2 separate regions of the Homo sapiens genome follow, and region 1 is linked to region 2. The links are contacts of gene promoters, found by promoter capture Hi-C in blood cells and fetal thymus (Javierre and others, 2016). All regions are on one chromosome and are shown on one strand. The core of a region is centred on a gene start or on the middle of the fragment in contact, and the rest is flanking DNA. Distances in the headings are between cores, read along the strand shown.

What was found. The method cuts DNA at HindIII sites, captures the fragments that hold promoters and counts their contacts. A CHiCAGO score of 5 or more calls a contact.
Region 1: a fragment that was not itself captured here is called in contact with the fragment with the promoter of HDAC7 in region 2 in 1 of 17 cell types (neutrophils); the score reaches 5.6 in neutrophils.

What each region holds. Positions count from the first base shown.
Region 1 is chr12:45,986,415-45,989,480 of GRCh38, forward strand. The region is part of intron 1 of SCAF11 (SR-related CTD associated factor 11); the gene reads right to left. Among named protein-coding and RNA genes, the nearest start is that of SCAF11, 2.6 kb to the right of the region's middle. RefSeq lists a silencer at 289-338. The HindIII fragment of the contact is 7,512 bases long and covers 1-3,066 here.
Region 2 is chr12:47,818,241-47,821,298 of GRCh38, forward strand. HDAC7 (histone deacetylase 7) reads right to left here and starts at 1,663. Exons shown (of 26, transcript NM_015401.5): 1 at 1,527-1,663. The coding sequence starts at 1,545. RefSeq lists enhancers at 592-1,165, 2,504-3,058 and silencers at 1,074-1,383, 1,394-1,473, 1,614-1,953. The HindIII fragment of the contact is 23,145 bases long and covers 1-3,058 here.

The DNA of each region.
Region 1 (3,066 bases), core at 336-2,835, 1.8 Mb before region 2:
TCTCCACAATTATCATCCTAATTCAAGCTATCCTCATCTCTCCCAGACTACTAAAAAAGCCTGCTAACTAATTCTCCCAGATCTCTTGCTGCCTCTCTCCTCCCTTTCAATACACATCACCACAATCCTAGTTTTGCCTTCTGGAACTATAAGAAATTAATATGGCTTCTAAATGACAACATTTTTAACAATAAGATAGTTATACTGCTTGATATGGTTTGGCTGTGTCCCCACCCAAATCTCTCTTGAATTGTATTCCCATAATTCCCACGTGTTGTGGGAGCAACCTGTTGGGAGATAATTTGAATCATGGGGGCAGTTTCCCCCATACTGTTCTCATGGTAGTGAACAAGTCTCACAAGATCTGATGGTTTTAACAGATGTTTCCGCTTTTGCATCTTCCTCATTTTCTCTTGCCACCAACCACTATGTAAGAAGTGCCCTTCTCCTCCCACCAAGATTCTGAGGCCTCCCTAGCCATGTGGAACTGTAAGTCCAATTATACCTCTTTTTCTTCCCAGTCTCAGGTATGTCAGCAGCATGAAATCAGGCTAATGCACTGCTCTACTCTTAGCTGAGGCATTCTTAGCTCCTTCTATATTAAGACAAATGATAGTTTCAAGGTCACATACTGTTATACTCCTCTAAAAACACAGACCCCTTAGGCTGGGTGTGGTGGTTCATTCCTGTAATCCCAGCACTTTGGGAGGCCAAGGCGGGATGATTACTTAGCCCAGGAATTTGAGACCAGCCTGGGCACCAAAGTGAGAGCTGTGATCACACCACTGCGCTCCAGCCTGGGAGACAGCGAGATGCTATCTGAAAGCAAAAACAAAACAAACAACAACAAAAAACAAGGACCCCTGAAATGAACATGGCCCACATGCATGGATATAAGTAACTTGGCAGTTTATGCTACAGACTGAGACTTGCTTAGTCTAAAGTTTCAAACCACAATCACTATTTGTAACGTTTACAGCTGAAAGCAGGTTAATTCATTAACTTACACTGAAGGCATTGTTCAGGTGTTTAGGTGACAAATACTGACAAATGCTGATCTCACAGAAGATAAATCACAGTGAAGAAAATAAACAATAAACCTAAGTTAGATTACACAATATGTTGCAAAATGATAAATGCAATGGAGAAAAATCTAGCATAAAAACAGATACAAAATATCGGGGGAAGGCTGTTGTTTTATACACAGTAGTTAGAGAAGACCACAACAGCGTAGGGGAAAGGAGATTGGAGAAAGGGTGAGGAGATGAAGTCAGAGAGGAAGAAGAGACTTAAATCATAGAGCCTTGTAGACCATAGGAGTATGGAATTTACTATGACTGAGAAGGGAAGCCATTTGAGAAAAGAAGTTACATGACCTGACATTTTATCAGGATCACTCTGGCTATGGAGTGTTAAAGACTGTAGATCAGCAAAGGTCACAGTGACTTTTTAGGAAGATATTTTTGAAAGCAAAATAGTGGTTGTGTTTTTACGTTATGTATTGAATTTTTATGTGTCTATGTACTAGGATTTCATACATTAAGTTCATAGACACAACTTAAAAAAATACAATGCAAAGATGAGTTTTGGGAATAGCAAGAGAATGATACTGGATATTTTAACTCTGGGCTCTACTCAGCACTACTAACAGTTATTACTGCTCAGAAGCAAGACAAGGTGCAAGGTTATTAACTTATTTTGGGGGACAGAGTATAATTAAAAATCTGGATTTTAAGTTTATTTCACTGGGCAAGGTAAGTCAAGGTACAATTTACATCTTAAAAGACAAAAGCAGGTGATAGCAGGGCTTGCTAAAGGGAAGTTACAATGAAAATTATTCTACAGTTGACTTTCTTTTTATTACTTTTATGCCTGCTACTCTCTTTAATTAAGGTGCTACAACTATCTCTGATATACTTTAAAAGTTCAGTATTAAGTTGATGGGTAGTATAGTACTGTATTTTCTGATTACTAAAAGATGTTACTGATGATGAATCAACAGTATCATGTAACTGCACTGATTCATCCTATCTCTGCTGAATAAAAGCACAGGTTTTCCAGAAAACTGTCTAAGCTCTAGTTGGTGCCAAAGGACGATAGAGAGCTAAGTAACTCCTGAAAAGTTTCGATCTTAACACACTAGCCCTATTACCACATGAAGGTATTAACAGAAAAAATTAAAAAATTATCCGTAAAATTTTCTCCATGACATGTTTTCTGGCAACATATTTAGAAACTTTAAATTTTCTTCTACAGTTTTCTTCCCCTTTATACTGAAGAATGTCTTTAAAGCATGAGTATACTTACAGTAAGCAAACATTCAAATTTTACCCCAGTGAAATCTTAAAATGTACTCAAACTCTCAGGCAAAAAGTTCACTATCTGAATGTGAAAAACTGAATGACTGTTAAAATATCTGCAAGCACCAAAAAATATTATAGCTAAAATGCAGCTACCCTAAGAACTGTTTTTAAAAAACTCACATTGCATAAAAAATATAAATTCAGATTATCCGATAGGATAATATAAAACAAAAGAAATCCAAAGACAGTTTCAAGATTTCATTTCTCTTGCTTAGTTAAAACAACAAAAACAAAAGGCCCATGAACTTTTTCTTGCATCTTTTAACCAAAATAGTGACATGATCAAGCCAACTGCCAAAGAAACAGGAAAGAGAAAGCAATTGTTTAGAAACAGACTTGATTACATGTCAAAATTTTAATACAATTACTAATAAAATACAAAAACCAACCGTTATTTTAAAATGTACTGCCCTGATATTCTGCTGCTGAGGTAGGTGGTGATATGTAGAAATTAATTTTTCTTTTAAAACGAAAAAATAATGCATTTATTAATATGCTTTTCCCAAAATTCGGGGAAAATTCCCAAATCGGAGAAAAAAATTTAACATCAGCATCTACTACACAAAGCATTAAAAACATTTTTCAGCAGTTTTGCTTAAGTATCTTAGGTCAGTGGTAGCATGTTAGCCAAAATGTAATCCAAAATGAATGAACAACAGTCAGCTGGTAGACACTGTATGTAATACAATACGGAAATATATTG
Region 2 (3,058 bases), core at 413-2,912:
TGCAACATCAGGAGGCAGCTCTGAGCTTGCCTCTGAGCCTGGCCCTGCTGGGCAAGGAGGGACATCAGGGGACTAAAGGCAGAGGACCAGTCCCAATAGGTCCAAGACCTGGTTCCAGTCTAGGTTCACTGGGCTGGGTACCACTCACTGGGACTACTCTGTGCCTTAGTTTCCCTCAGAAATGACTGCAGAGAAGAAGAAAATGACTTAATAACCCATGGGTAGCGGCAGCCTAGCAGCCTATGGAGTCCTGGGAGGGGGAAAGGGCCGCCAAAGCGTCTCATTGGAGGGCAGGGACCTGAGTCACAGTCTCCTGCCAGCCCTATAGCTGAATAGGGGTCCTGAGGAAGGTCCCACAGGTCCAGATGCAAGTCCAGGGAACAGGCTGAGAAGTTGATCTTGAGCTCCCAGCAGGGCCGCTGAGGGCCGATGCCCCATTCTCACCCTAGAAAGCGGCAGGCAGAGCTGGGCCTCAGGCAGATGTTGCCTAGGGGAGTGGGCAGGGAGCGTTGGCAGCGAGACAGCCAGTGTCCAGATGCAGGGGGAGGCCTTTGGGTGCGCAAGACAGCCAGCGGGGAGAAGGAGTGAGGAGCAGCCGTGGCTGGGGAGGTCAGACCCAAACGGGCAGCCACAGCGGGAAGCAATGGGGGTGGGGCACTGGGTGGCCTGCGGGCCCCAGAGGGCTCTCTCCTGGCCCACAGGCCTAGAAACTCTGGTCGTGGGAACCCAGCCCATCCGCCAAATTTGCCGCCTGCTCTCACACTCCCCAACACCAACAGACCCCAGGCCTGGGGGGTGCACATCCTGTCCCCCACCCCTCACACAGCCTGCGGCGCCCCGCTTCCCGCGCCGCTGCCGGCATTGACCTCCACAGCTCACCAGGGCACAGGTGTCTCTTCACCCTGATGGGTGAGCAAGGATGGGGGGCAATGCTCAGAGAAACCTCCCAGCCAGAGACCCCTCCAAGGGACCTCTTTCCCCGCCGAAGGATCTGAGTAGGGCCCTGCCCGGCTCCACGGGATGGGGGCGCTGATGTCCAGCCCCACAAAGCCCAGCCCCAACTCAGTGGGTCCTGCCCTTTGCCCTCGCGCTTCCAAACCTTCCGCCCCGGAGCACCGCCCCCTCGCCGGGCCACCGCGGCCGTCCCTCCCTCCCCGGTCCCTCGGCTCGTCCTCCCCGGGAACAGGGGTGATGGGACGTGGGGCCCGCACACCGGCGGCCGGGGCCTCCAACTCCCTCCCTTGGGCCTGTAGCTGCCCCGGGGCGGGCGGATGTGGGCGCCCCGCGGGAGGCCCGAGCCCTCCGGCCCCCGGAACCAGCTCCGACCCGGAGCCTGCCAGAGCCCCGCGGAGCCGGGCGGGACAGGCGCGGTCGGGGGGCGCAAGCCGGGCTGGGCCCGCGGGGCTGGCGGGAGCCCGAGCCGGAGCCGGAGCCGGAGCCGGGGCCAGGGCCGGAGGCCGAGCCTGGGCGGGCGACGCTGGGTGCCGCGCGCAGGGCGGGGCGGGGGGCGGCCGCCCAGTACTCACCAGCGCCGGGGCTGTGCATCCAGGGGCCGGGGCCCTCAGAGCGGGGGGCTCATGGCGGGGCGGGGGGCTGGGGCGCCGGCCTCACATCCCCCCAGTCGCCGGAGGCTGCAGAGCGACTGTGAGACGGCGAGAGGAAGGGAGGGGGCCGGGAGGGGGAGGGCCCTGGCAGCCCGGCCGGCCGGGTAGGATGACAATGGAAGGAAATGCTTTATCTGAGTCTGAGAGCGGGCCAAGGGGGAGGGGAGGGAGGGGGCAGGCGCTCGCGGCCCTGGGACACACCACCCCGGCAGACACTGCACCGCGCGGCGCACAGGCGGGCCGCAGACACCGCGCGCGGCCAGATCGCGGCGGGGCGCGGCGCACTGCCGGGGAGGCAGCGCCGAACCCGGAACGCCGGCCGCGGCTCCGAGCCCCAGCCGCCGCGAGGCGCTCCGAGCCGTGCACAATTCCCGGAAACCCAGCTACCTGGGCGCACGCACCCTCGCATACACAACGTACACGAGCACGCATCCATGTTTACAAGGGGCAGAATCATTTACACAGCACACACTGGGGCTTCGGGGTGGACCCCCGTGCACACACTACATACCCGTACAGCCCACAAGCACGCAGCCACACGCGGGCACAGTGGGACACGCGTGGTGTCCCATGTCCCATACAAGGAATCCCAGACGGACACCCCCCACCACACACACACACACATAAGCACGACTTGCCTCAGGAAAGTTCCAGGATCTGATTTGAATCACTGCCCAGCCCTCCCCCACTGGCACCCCCACACACACACCATGCCTGCTGAGGGGAACGGAAGGGTCCAGCCTGTTCCTATTAAAAGAAAAAGGGTGTGGGGGTGGTGCAGATTTTGAAAGTTTTCTTTTTTTAAAGAAATTTCTCAAGGGACTTCCTTCCCTCCTCTCCTCTTCCTCTCTTCCTCCCATTCCTCTCCCTCCACAACCCCCCTCTTTCCCCCTCCCGGTCCCTATGAGTCAAACTTCAGCAATGTGCCCAGTGTCCCCCAGTGCATTACAGCGGATCACAGAAATGTTCCAGTCTGTGAGTCGGAATGCAGCCGCCTCCAGCCCTCCCTCAGCTAATAAACTCAGCTCAGGGCCGGCTTTAGGCAGTGGCCCTCCCTGCCTCTCCCTCCGCTTTTAGCTGGAGAGAAGGTCAGATTCAGGGGTCAGGGGCTAAGGACCTCGCCATTGTGCTTCCTGGGCTAGCCGGTCAGCCGTGTCTGCCTCCAGCAATCTGGAGCTGCTCCTAGGAAGGGGAGAGGTCCACCACGCAGGAACACTGGGCTCTCTGCAGCGTGAGGCGCCACCATTGTAAACCAAGGAGCAGCTTCCCCTGACCCCATTCTATCTCCCGCAATCCTAAGAAACCCCAAGAATCCAGAGAAGGAAAAATTGAGGCAGCCCCAGAGGTGGAGTCATGTCTGATTGGAAGCAAGAGCCCACAGTGGCCTAGGAGGGCTTGGCCATGCTGGCGGTGAACTTCAAACCATAGATTCTATTCCCTTCCCTCAGGCACAG